Linked DNA regions of Homo sapiens: all the other regions are linked to region 1. The links are contacts of gene promoters, found by promoter capture Hi-C in blood cells and fetal thymus (Javierre and others, 2016). All regions are on one chromosome and are shown on one strand. The core of a region is centred on a gene start or on the middle of the fragment in contact, and the rest is flanking DNA. Distances in the headings are between cores, read along the strand shown. Region 1 holds the start of FGGY (FGGY carbohydrate kinase domain containing). Region 2 has its middle 5.8 kb from the start of OMA1. Region 3 holds the start of HOOK1 (hook microtubule tethering protein 1).

What was found. Contacts are between HindIII fragments. The CHiCAGO score rates a contact against its expected background, and 5 or more counts as called.
Region 2: a contact is called between a fragment that was not itself captured here and the fragment with the promoter of FGGY in region 1, in 1 of 17 cell types (non-activated CD4 T cells). The highest score is 5.2, in non-activated CD4 T cells.
Region 3: the fragment with the promoter of HOOK1 here is called in contact with the fragment with the promoter of FGGY in region 1 in 3 of 17 cell types (non-activated CD4 T cells, naive CD8 T cells and naive CD4 T cells); the score reaches 6.8 in non-activated CD4 T cells.

Annotation. Positions count from the first base shown.
Region 1 is chr1:59,295,356-59,299,676 of GRCh38, forward strand. FGGY (FGGY carbohydrate kinase domain containing) reads left to right here and starts at 1,739. Exons shown (of 16, transcript NM_018291.5): 1 at 1,739-1,795. FGGY-DT (FGGY divergent transcript) reads right to left here and starts at 1,195. Exons shown (of 2, transcript XR_001738089.2): 1 at 1,014-1,195; 2 at 1-409. RefSeq lists silencers at 1,141-1,680, 1,691-1,780 and an enhancer at 3,198-4,321. The HindIII fragment of the contact is 6,368 bases long and covers 1-3,626 here.
Region 2 is chr1:58,550,347-58,554,667 of GRCh38, forward strand. No RefSeq gene overlaps it. Among named protein-coding and RNA genes, the nearest start is that of OMA1, 5.8 kb to the left of the region's middle. The HindIII fragment of the contact is 2,117 bases long and covers 1,364-3,480 here.
Region 3 is chr1:59,812,636-59,816,956 of GRCh38, forward strand. It overlaps HOOK1 (hook microtubule tethering protein 1), which reads left to right and starts at 2,314. Exons shown (of 22, transcript NM_015888.6): 1 at 2,314-2,545. The coding sequence starts at 2,483. It overlaps LOC105378758 (a long non-coding RNA gene), which reads right to left and starts at 2,231. Exons shown (of 5, transcript XR_947426.3): 1 at 2,127-2,231. RefSeq lists a silencer at 1,782-2,381 and an enhancer at 2,618-3,181. The HindIII fragment of the contact is 6,303 bases long and covers 1-3,886 here.

The sequences.
Region 1 (4,321 bases), core at 489-2,988:
GCCAAGATGAGACCCCCTTGCCACAGTGCATGAAACCAGCATATTCCACTTATTCCATTCTTGGGGTACGTTGAAACAGATCTGGAAGCAATGTCTTCTGTGTATTAAGCATCTAACACTTTACAAAGCATTTTCATATGTCTTACCACATTTGTTCTTCATAATGTTCTGAAAAGGTAAGATGAATACATCTTATTATTCCTATTGAACACTTGATTCACACAGCTGCTAAGTAACAGATTCCAACGAGTCTATAGCTAGGTCTTTGGGTATGTTGCTGGTAATGAAAAGGTGAACAATCATGGTGCAGAAGAAAGAAAATGAGCCAAACCAGGATCCCTGGTAGAGTTGTAGTGCAAAGACTGGGGTTAATTGTGTGGCCTCAGCCTCACTGGGCTGTTCTCCTCACCTGTAAGACCAAGATAAGAGCACTTATTTACTTCGGGGTTGTTGTGAAGATAGCAGACAATCTTAGTGCACCTGCCACTTAAGATCCGTTCAGTGAAATTATTACCTTTCACAGGTGTGTCTTTGGAAAATCACTTCCCTTTCCTGGATCTCAGTTTTCTTTTCTAGGAAAACAACATGTTTGGACTCAGCGACTGCTAAACTGTCTCCCAAACCTCGAACTCCCTCAGCCTGGGATCCTGCCTTTTATGAAAATAGTTCGGATTGGAGCTCAGGTTGGAATTCTCGCTTTAGTTGCTTGCTAGCTGTGTGTCCCAGTAAAAGCTAAAAATTTCGGATTCCCCACATCTGTAGAATAGGGATACATAACATGCAGCTTATTAGAAAGGGAAGGCATGTGAGAATTAAATTAGGTCCGTGTCCAGTACCCACTAAATTGTAAAAACTTCTCAAAGGCAGGGACCCATCTGTTTTGTAGATTTACAGAATGTCATACGTTGAAGTACGGGGGTTCGCCACGGGATTAGAAAATTTCTGTAGAGTAAGGAACAAGACACAAGGTAAGCATTCAAGAATTGTAACCATGCAATATTCTTATTTCTTACAGTCGCCTACAACAGTCCTGGTGTTTAGTAAACGGTCTGACACACACACCCATCAGGGGCTGCGGAGAGTCCGCCTGGGTAAGCTCCGCAAGGTGAGTCCCCAGAGCCGGGAACTCGCAGCCTGAGCAGACGCAGCGTAGCCGATCTTGGGTCCGCGCTCCTCCCGCCTTGCCCAGCCCTGCCCGCGGTTGGCTAGGCCCCAGGGAACGCTGCAGCCGCGGGGTGGGCAGGCGACGGCCAATCCCACGCCCGGTTCAAAGGGCCAATCAGGCCGCGCTTTACAGGGGCCGCGCTTTACAGGGGCCGCGCTTTACAGGGGCCGCGCTTTACAGGGGCCGCGCTTTACAGGGGCCGCGCTTTACAGGGGCCGCGCTTTACAGGGGCCGCGCTTTACAGGGGCCGCGCCGGCGGGGGCGGGATCGCGCGCAAGGCGGGGCTGTAGCCGCCCCGGGACCGCCCTGCTCAGGCGCCGTGGGGTTCGGCGCGGCTACGTGCAGAATCCGTCTAGCTAAAATGTAATTTCAGATTGGACAAGTACTGTAAGTGACCCTCCTCTCAGTCCCACGTGGGCGCTGGGGGCTTTTGCTGGTGCGCAGGCTCTTAGCGCGCACGCCCAGAAAGAGGCTTCTCCAACCCGGCCCGGCCCTTCCTTCCCCTTTCCCGCAGTCGTTGCCTCCTCCTCCCCTGCCTCCTCCTCCCCTTCCTCCTCCTGGCCGCTTAGTCTCACACCCGCCGGGCCGTTGTTCCCGAGACGTTGTTGAGTCCCCTGTGTCCTCTTCTGGGTGAGGCGTCCGGCCACTTAAGGGAAGGGAAGGGAAGGGTCGGCCTTGACTGCATCCCCAAGGCTGCCTATTAGGTGTCTGGAACCCGTGCTGCTTCCTCTCCGATCAGTGCCCACTTATCTGTATTCAGTACTCTTTCTCTCCTCCCCTTACCCTTGTAGGACATTTTCCTGGCATTTGAGGAGCCTTTAATTCACGTCTGGCTACCGAAGGCATTTTTAGGCTAGTGTTGCTTGTAGATTTAAACGCTTCCAGCACTTGTGATAATGTTTGAGGCACAGCTGAGTTTAGATGAGATAATGCTGTTTGGTTACAGTTATCCTGAGTAGAAAGGCCTAGGGATATCTTTTCATTTTTAGCCGTTTCCTTTTTATTTAAAGATTGACAAGGGGCCGGGCGCGGTGGCTCACGCCTGTAATCCCAGCACTTTGGGAGGCCAAGGCGGGTGGATCACGAGGTCAGGAGATCGAGACCATCCAGGCTAACACGGTGAAACCCCCGTCTCTACTAAAAATACAAAAAATTAGCCGGGCGTGGTGGCGGGCGCCTGCAGTCCCAGCTTCTCGGGAGGCTGAGGCAGGAGAATAGCGTGAACCCAGGAGGCGGAGCTTGCAGTGAGCTGAGATCGTGCCACTGCACTCCAGCCTGGGGGACAGAGCGTCTCAGAAAAAAAAAAAAAAAATTGACAAGGTGCAAAATGGTGAATTTCCCTCATCATGGGCTGTTTTCCACTAAAGCACTTCTGTGTCTTAACACAAATTTCTTCCCCGAAGAGTCAGTCATGACATGACCAAAGTCTGAAAAGCAGTTAATCCTTAGGTTAAATTTTAAAGTATGAGACCAGGAGGGGTGAGGTGCTTATTCTTTTGACTTGTAAATCAGAATGAAAGAAGGGAAAGTCTTTTATTTTGTGGCTGTTATTTAAATGGTAGAGTTTTGCTTTGTATAGTTTTTGCTTGCTTTTCCTCTTTTTTTTCTATGATCCACCACGTGTATGTCCTGATTTTTTTCCTTTTTAACTTGCTTGCTGGATTTTCCAGCCAGATGACTGCCGCTTGGTCTTCTGGGAGTCTCCTGTTAATGGGGCCCTCATGCTTGGCTCTTGACCTGATGGCCACTGGCCTGGCTCTTGGAGGACCTCCTAGTGGGAGGCCCAGAGCACTGTTATTAAGGATGATTGGGGGAACAGATCAGAGGGGGTCAGCTGGGCCTGGAGATCAATTTTGAGGGGGAGGGAGGTTGGGAGCCTGCCTGGCTGGATTTGGAAGTCAAAACATGTGTGCTGGGAGAAGGGCATAACCCCAGAGGGTGGAGAGCCATGTCTTTCTGGATAAAATTAATAAGTTTACTGGGAGGAGGCTGGGCCTTCCAGGCTGTGTTAGTTTTTGTTGTGGGCCTTGGCTTTTCCTGGAATTTGGTTCCCTTTCCCTAACCTTTCACTTATTAGTTTAAATAGTTCCCTTTACCTAACCTTTCACTTATTGATTTAAATAGTTTAAATCACAGTCAATTACCAGCTGGTTTTTAAAATAATTTGAGGTAATGAATCTTGCCCTTAATCTCCTAGCCAGAGTGGAACCCCCTACCTCCACCCCCAGGGGGATTTGAAATGATTATTTTACCAGAACGTGCTACAGAGATCACTTACCTTCTCACCCGCCCACCTTTTTATAATGGAGGGACATAGAATCAACCCAGGTGGTGTCAGAGATCATCCAAATCAGTTCTTCATGTATTCATTTGTTCACTCATCTTGTCCACATACTTTGGGCCCAGAACTGTGGTAGTCTCTGGGAAAGTGCAGATGAGTAAGACTTGGTCTCTGCTTTCAAGCTTTCATCCAGTTTGCTTCAATCCACTTTGATGAGGGAGATTATGTGATAGTGAGATGAGTACATTGAAAAGGTATGCCGAAGACTCCCAGGAGTTGAGAGAAGGGCAAATGGCTCAACATGGGGAAGCCATTTGGGGAGGACTTCCCAGAAGGGAATACTGGAGCCGAGTTCCAAAGCCTAAGTATGAGTGGGCTGGAGAAAGAGCGAGGGATTATATGAACCGGGAACAGCATGTGCAGAACTACACAAGCATGGCACATGGTTGATTAGGATGGCTGTGCAGGAAAGGATAAGTTGGAAAAAATCACCTGACAGGAGGCTGGGGAGGGTGAAGGCCAGGTCAGGAAGGGTCTGGTGAATCATCTTAGGGGAGTTTGAAATATATCTCCAGGGCAAACAGTGATACATACTCTCAGGTTTATGTTATAGAAAATTAATTCTGGCTGCAGTTTGGAGAATGAATTGGATTGGCGAAGCCCGGAGAGAGGTAATTGTAGTAATATAGGTGAGAGACGTGTTAGGGTAATAGTTATGGGAGTGGAGAGAGATTAGGAAAATAGAATGGTTAGGAATGTTATAAAGGTTCAGTGCCACAAAAGAAATAGCACTTGAATATCAAATTTTCTTTTTTCTTCTCAGCAAGGCCATTTACTTCTATAGAAGGGTGCGCCCTCACAGATGGAGCAATGGT
Region 2 (4,321 bases), core at 1,172-3,671, 740 kb before region 1:
ATAACCAGCCCACTGCACTGTTCTTTCAGACACTGCTCCCTCCATCTTTCAAGTGCATTAACTATCTCACCTAAATGGCATTGCCCTCCACTGGGCCAGTTTCCCAGGTCGCCATCACTGAAATCCACACGGGGGCCACTATCTTGTGCCAGACACTATCCAAGACCCCACATTCCACTCAAGATGGAGTTCTTGTAGCCAGTTGGGCAATTAATGAGCCACTCTCAGAGCCGATCTTACCATCTTCTTCTCAGATCACCCCACTTCTAGTCCACCTGTATCAACAGGCCCTCTAAAAAGCAGATGCCAGGGTGGAATCAGATGTGCAAGACATATTTACTGCGTGGAAAATCCTGGGAAGGATAATGGAGCAGGAGCAGGAATAGACAGGAAGGGCCCTCAGATCATGACACTGGTTAAAGGAGAGAGGGAAAGAAGAAAGACTGGATTAGAAGCACCTCAGGTAGTAGCACAGTTCTAAGAAGGTTTTGAAAATGAGGAGTCCTTAGGCCAAAATTGCCTGCTTAGAGGAGTTCCATATTTTGCAGAGATGGGCATCCACTAGTGTTCACACCATGCATGATCATTGGCTAAGAGCAGTCTATGGGGAGCATGCGCTTGTTACAAATGGAGTTGGGGAGCCAGAAGGTCAGGGGCAGGGCCTGGCAGTCAACTATGCTCCCCAGAGCAGATCTGAGCGGCACATTTTCCCGGTCACGGCTGCTGGAGGATTTAGAGTTTGAATAAGTCCTCTGTTCTGGCTGTACATCTTCTTTGTGCTGCCCTTTAAGCAATTTTTTAATCAACGTGCTATGGACTGAATGTTTGTATCCCTCTGAAATTCATATGTTGACCCCTAAATTCCCAATATTAACAGTATTTGGAAATGGGGGCCTTTAGGAGGTAATTAGGTCATGGGGGTGGAGCTCTCATGAATGAGATTCAAGTCTGTAAGGAGATAAAGGGATCAGAGAGCTCCCACTCTGCCACGTGAGGATAAAACAAGACAGCTGTTCGTACACGAGGAAGAGGGTCCTCACAAAATCCAACCATGCTGGCATCTTCATTTCAGACTTTCAGCTTCCCAAACTGTAAGAAAAAATAGTTTGTTGCTGAAGCCAGTCAGTCTACAGTACTTTGTTGTAGCAACCTGAACTGACTGAGACACATGATCAGATTCCATTCTCAGAACCAACCTTCCAACCAAGCAATATTGATTTGCTACACTTAAAAGTTTGGCTTTTGTCAAATTTCCAAAGCTATTTACCCCGTCTGAATTCAGAGGATTGACATGAATAATTTCCTTTGGATATGCCCTTGGGAAAAGGGCTTCATTTTAAGCACAGCTTAATGAGGTGTAAGAAGCTTTTGAAGGTGTTCTTTACAGAGTATTCATGGTAGGAGGTTTGCTTGAAGGGTCACACTGAAGACTGTGTCCCGTGACAGCATCACTGAAGTTTGACTTTGGATGTAACACTGAAAGTAGATGCTGTGCTACACCAGCAGATCCCCATTCACTGAAGTTATCATTCTGGCAGCTGCCTGCCTCCCTAGAGATTTCCCTTGGCTGGAGACACCGGCTTCATCCAAGGATAGGCTCTCTGCCCAGCGACAACACTTACCCCACAAACTTTGGGAGTACACAGTCCTGACTCCTATGCATCAATTGAGGATAACACTGCAAGGCCATCCACGCGGCAGAGACCTCCATGGGACTGGAAGCTCCACTTCTGCCTCTACCCAGTCCTGTTTCCCTTACTCCCTTATAAGTGTTGTTCCTTGGCCAGGCACAGTGGCTCACGCCTGTAATCCCAGCAACTTGGGACGCTGAGGTGGGCAGATCACTTGAGGTCAGGAGTTTGAGATCAGCCTGGCCAACATGGTGAAGCCCCTGTCTCTACTAAAAATACACACATACACACACACACACAAACACACACACACACACACACACACACAGAGATTAGATAGGCATGGCGGCTCGTGCCTATAGTCCCAGCTACTCGGGAGGCTGAAGCAGAAGAATTGTTGTTCCTTGGCCGGGCACAGTGGCTCACGCCTGTAATCCCAGCAAGTTGGGACGCTGAGGTGGGCAGATCACTTGAGGTCAGGAGTTTGAGATCAGCCTGGCCAACATGGTGAAGCCCCTGTCTCTACTAAAAATACACACATACACACACACACACACACACACACACACACACACACACACACACAGAGATTAGATAGGCATGGCGGCTCGTGCCTATAGTCCCAGCTACTCGGGAGGCTGAAGCAGAAGAATTGCTTGAAGCTGAGAGGCAGAGGTTGCAGTGAGCCGAGATCACACCACTGCACTCCAGCCTGGGTGACAGAGCAAGACTCCGTCCTAAATAAATAAATAAATAAGTGTTGTTCCTGAGGTCTCTCCCCTATAAGCCTGCACAAAAAGATTTATCTCAGAATCTGTTTCCAGGGAACCCAGCCTAAAACAATTCAGTCTTCTCCAGTGGAAAACTATATTAAATGCCATGACACAGAAAGACATTCATTCACACCTCCTATAGAAAGTGCTGGATGCTGAATACTGAGTTAAAGAAGAGAGTGACTCTGAAGAATTATGAGGCATGGCTTGTCTTATAACAGGTTTAGACAGAAGTTCAACAGACAACAATCAGGCCTCTGATGATATAGATTCAGAATGAGAACCAGGTGAAACAGCCACAGGATTTGATGAGGGTCACGTACTTGGAAGGCTGCAATGTATGGGTGGCACCTTGACTGAAGTGGCCTTTCGTTTTTCTTGAATATGTGCCAGGCATGACTGTCCAAAAGGGTTGAAATTGTGAATTTGAAATCACTCCAACACAGAGAATTTCAGCATCTTCATTGAAACGTTCTACTCCAACAAAAATCAGCTCAGTGCTTACTTCAACCACAGTTGACTTCTTTTTCTTTCTTGTGTCATCCTAGCCCTTCTTCCCACATAACATGAATAAATCTGCCATTTTAAAGTTAATTTTTTGCTTGAAGAGAATGGTCACACCAAGTTCCAGTGTGTTATTTTTACGAATTGCCATCTAAATTATTAGTGCACTAGTATCCTGACTGGTCTCCCTGTCTCCAGCCTCGTTCCTCTTGTCTATACTGCAGCCACCAGGACCCAGCTCCTGAAATTGGGTGTGGGATAATTCAGTATGGCTCAGCGAGCTCCATGCAGGGCCATGGGGGAAGGTCTTACTGTGGACATGCCCTTGCTCACTCCCCAGAGATCAGTTCTTCAAAGATGCCAGATGAGCACTTTTCTAAGTGTCAGTGCAAACTATTATTTCTTTATTGCACAAGTGAAATACTAATACCATAGAAAAGCAAAACAAAAAAGAGAAAAATCACCCTTAACCTCACTATCCCAAAATAACCACTGTTAACATTTTGATGCGTAACCCACTTGAAAAGCAAGATTTAAATTACCTTAAATATTTAAAACATTGATGAGATCAAAGCTTCCTCGTTGTTTTGATGTGTATTCCTTTGATTTATAATAATGTAAATGCTTTTTCATGCTTTTATGCTGTTTGGATTTCTTCTTTAGCAAATTGCCTGTTCATGCCCTTAACCCATTTTTCTGTAATATATTCATTTGTATCTTATAAACTTAAAACATTTTTTTATACATTTAAGAATTGTCTGTCATTTATGTAGCAAACATTTTCCCCACTTGAAGTTTGTCTTTCAACTTTGTTGATTCAGGTGAAAAATACACTTAATTGCTGAAATTTTGATACAGTCAAAAATATCCATCTTTTCATTATGGTTTCTGCCTTCGAGATCATATCTACTGTCTGTCTCAAAATTAAGATTAAATATTTATCATTATTCTAGTACTTGAATGACTTTGTTCTTTCTTAAATCTTTTAAAATATTTAATCTACCAGGAATTTATTTCAGCATAAAATAGGAGGAAAAAAAATAACCTAAAATATTTTCGGAATAATTAGGCCAGTGGAGCTTTTACAAAGGATGCATGCATGTGCCCTCCCCATGGTTAGGACCACCAAAGTAACTGCTGTCCCAACAATTAATTTAACATGTCCTGACTGACTTAAAGCATCACTGTTACGATATGCTAAATTCCTGTAAATATCTACATATGTTTCTGCAGTTTCCCTTTTTTTCCTTGGTCTGACTGTTCTGGAGTTAGTGCATGATTCTTTCTATTTATTGTAACTTTGTAATATACATTTTATTTTCAAATATTGTCTGGCTCTTACACATTTGACCTTCAAGATGAACTTCTGAACAGTTTTTTTCCAGCTCCCTTCCTAAAAAAAAAGGAATTGGG
Region 3 (4,321 bases), core at 1,064-3,563, 520 kb after region 1:
TTTATGATTATTCCTTTGTCTTCTTCCTGTGTATATATTAAAATACATACCTAATATTTATAATATTGAGGTCATATGGCTGATACTTTCATCTAAATTTTATTTAATAGTATACATTGTGACAACTTTCCTGAGTTATCAAATATTCTCCAGAGCACTGAATCTGCTGTAAAATATTTAGCCTTCCTTGCTTATTGGGCATTGTATCAATCGATTATACAATTGATCAATACATAGCATTGCCATACATATCATTGTTCAAAGCCTCCAAATGCACTTCTGATGATTTCAACAGAATTTATGACTGACGCAGAATAAATTGGAATCATGGGTTTAAATGATATGGATATTTTAAAGTTTCTTGATAAAAATTGTTAAATTTTTCCTTCCCTGATAATTTACTCTCTATAAAGTCCAGAAGCATAACTTAATTGCCCCCCCCACCAAGTTACTCTCACGAATTATTTTATTTGAGAAATTTGGTCACTTGTGGCTCTCAGTGATAAATATGTTGAGAAGTTTCCCATATGTATAGATGATAATAGTAACTCATATTTACAAAGTTTATAATTTACATTTACCATGTATGTTTACATTTTAATTACAATGATCTTAGGAATGTGGAGGTTGGGGGCTATAGGAGAGCAGCCAGTGGGGAATAAAGTCAAGATTCAGACCAGGTCTTCAATTCCTAAATCTTGTAGTTTTAATTAAATCACATTACCAATGTACCTAGTTCCAGCATATAAAGTGACTCCAGAGGCGTTAAGAAAGTTCTGGAATAATGTTAAGGGAGTCAATAGCAAACGTACATACTGTATTTTTAGAATGAGACTGATTTACACTTGGGGGCTTTTAATTGCAGTCGTCCATCAGTTTTAAATTTTCAGTGTCTAAATATAAAAACGCAGCAATATAAAAAAAAGCCAGCTGTTTTCTTACTCAGAGCATGAATTGATGAGTTTATGAATGAGTGAAGTGACAGCAAGACTAAGAATAGTCTAGCCCTTTTCAATCACCTAAGCCATCTATCAATACCTTGGAGAGCTTCCAATTTCAGGTCACCTCCCCCGACCCCCCTCCACCCCACAACATTCTCGGAAAAAGCAAATTTTCAACTGACAAAGGAAAATGGATACATTAATATCTTCCATGTTTTTCAAAACATTTCGTTTATTTTGCTACTTGAAAACGGTCTTCCCTTTTGCCCCATGTAAAATAAAATTGCTCATGATCTATGGTCCCGTGAGAGCTTATTTAAGGAGCACTGACGGATTCTATTTTCCTTATTAATGTGGCATATTTGCCACGTGTGCAAATGAAAACATCCCTTTCCAATGAGTGCCTAGGAGGAAATCAGCTCTTCCTTCCTCGAAGAGTTTTAATTCATGGGTATGATCTATTTCTTTCTTTCTTTATTTTGTTTTATATATTTTTTAGAGACAGAGTCTCGGTTTTTTGTCCAGGCTGGGGTGCAGTGGCATGATCTCGGCTCACTGCAACCTGTGCCTCCCGGGTTCAAGCGATTCTTCTGCCTCAGCCTCCTGAGTAGCTGGGATTACAGTCATGTGCCACCACCCCCGGCTAATCTTTGTATTTTTAGTAGAGAATGGGTTTCGCCATCTTGGCCTGGCGGGTCTCGAACTCCTGACCTCAGGTGATCCACCCGCCTCAGCCTCCCAAAGTGCTAGGATTACAGGCGTGAGCCACCTCGCCCAGCCGGTAGGATCTATTTCTGAAGACAATGTGGAAGCAGAGTGTGGGCCCTCCACAGGTGTAGCGAGGCGGCGTGCTACCGCGAAGAAGGAGGGAAGACGCCTGAGCCCAGCCGGTGCCCTGCTGCCCCTCTGCCTCTTCGGCCACTGGGGCTGAGCTTCAGCCTTACCAATCCCCGCCGCGCACGCGCGCTCGCTTCCCGCGCGCAACCTCCCACCCCCGCCCTCACTGCACCTGCCAGGTCATAAACCTCTTCCCACCCACTCTCACTCTCTACCCAAGGCTCAGGCTTGTCTCACGTTGATTGGCCAGAGCCCACGAGGGCACGTCCAATCAGCAATCCCCCCTGCGCAACCTATCCCGGTTCTTCCCGCCCCCGCCCCGCCCCGCCCGCCCCCCCGGGTACCTACCGTCTCTGTGACTGGTGCGCGGCCAGGTCACTCAGGGCGGCGGGGCGAGGTGTGCGGGAGTGGGCAGGACGGGTGGGAGGAGGGGAGGGGTGGGAGAAGGCGGGGCTCAGGTGCCTGGCAGCGCGGCCGGGGCCCAGGAAGGGGAGGGGGCGAACGCTGGAGCGAGGCGGGGGCGGGTGAGGAGGGGGTGACGCCGGACGCGTCGACAGCGCGAGGGTTCGCGCGTGAGCTGCGCGGGTCGGGCCTGGTACCGAGCTTTCCTGGGGGCTAGCAGGTCGTGGACGCCGGCTCCTGGAGGAGAGCCGGTAGGAGGGAGTGTGAAGGTGTCCGCGGCGTCGTCGACGGCGGCGCCGGCCATGGAGGAGACGCAGCCGCCGCCGCAGCCTAAGCTGCCCCTGTGCGACAGCCTCATGATCTGGGTGAGTGCGAGGAGGCGAGAGGGCGAGGGGGCCAGGGGGCCGAGGCGAGGAGCCTGGGGCGCCCGGTTCTCCCAGGTGAGCTGGGGCTACCTGCACAGGGTCCCGGCGCACCCTGCCCTTCTCACCTCGTGCCCTTGACCGAGAGAATGCCACCTGCGGGTCGACGGGCAGGTGTGTGGGCGCGGGTTGGTGTCCGGGGGTGGGGGTAAAGGAAGCTCTGGGAGCGTAACAGTGGAGGCTCTGGTCTCAACCAGAGGATTCGACCTGCCTGGTGCCCTAACAGCTGGGATATGAACCAAGCACCCATCCTCTTTTCTCCCCGCTGCCCCATTTTCTCCCCCTGAACAGCGCCCGAGCCCTCCACTTTCTGGATCGCCGACTCTCTTGCCTTGGTCCGCTTGGGCGTGAAGACCCTTTCCGAAACCTAACCCTGCATCCTCAAACTACCTTGCTCTACCTGGACACAGGTGGCCAGGAGGTGGCTGGCTGTTTTAGTTCCCGGACCAATGCTCCTTCAGGACTCTAGAACATCCGATTTTGTAGAAGCCGCTTCAAAGAGATGTTTGTATTTCCCGTATGGAGAAAAAGATGTGTTGGGAGTCGGGGGTCGTTTTCCCTTTTTCTCGCTGGCCCTCTCCTCCTCTAAATGGACAGCATTTTCTTTAAAGAAAATGAGTTGACATTTTTCTTTAGGATTTATCTGTGTTTAGGATTTTTGTTAATTTGTGTTGGGTCTGGACAGGCATATCTGTCCCCAGATTGTTCAATATTCCAGTCAGCAAAATGACATCCCACCTCTTAGAGTTACTTAGATATCAGTGCTGGCATTCAGGTGTGGTTCTTAACCCATATTGAGTAAAGATGGTGTTTGATGAGCCACAAGGTGCTGTTGATGATGCTCATCCCAAACCAGTTGTTTAGTTGCGTCTAGGGGAGTGTGTGCAGATGGAATGTAAACAGACGGGATCAGGAGGCTGTAATCGGTTGAGATTCCCTAGTGATCTAATGCATCTAATTCCAAAGAATGAGAAATCTAGGTTTATGGAAATGTGTGAAGCCTATTGGAAATAGCCATAATTTAAAGCATTTACACTTTGTAAGTAAATAACTTTTGCTTTTAGTGGAATGCAAATATTTAGGGTTTGTGAGTTAAAAGCAATTAGCTAACTGTTCAGCTGAATTTTCATTTGAAATAGGTATTGGGGTGGAAGTGCTGTATTTAAGACTGTCGTAGAAACAAGGCAACATTACTTTTAATGATTTGTTTTGTTAAAACAGACTAATTAAAGGGTGTATCCGAATCTGCTACATTATTGTAAACCTCAATTGACTGAAGTGTTAAGCTTAGTCTTTATGATGTCATTGATTTACATGTGAGGTGGTGGAGAAGCACAGGATTTTCTTTTGTGTTGTAATATTTTAAAATATTATGTGACTGTATCCACTCTTTTAACCAGAATTTATTGACTTCCAATGTTGAGCTAGGCACTGGGGAGGACTGGAGTGGTAGCCAGAGCTGTGTGTAATTACAGTGGAAGGTAAAATTCCGTAAAAGCTGCAAATATGTTGTAAACCAAATGATAAGGAATCACAGATAACAGAGTAAAATTGGTCGTTTTCTTCAGTCCTCTCTTGGGCTGCTGAGCACTGTGGAGAAAATTGAATGACCGTGCAAACTGTTGCCTCTACTAATGCTGTTACTGTCAAACGCACCTTTTCTCCTAACATTGCCCATACTTAAGAATAACCAGACAGTTTCTCTCACATTCCTCTTAG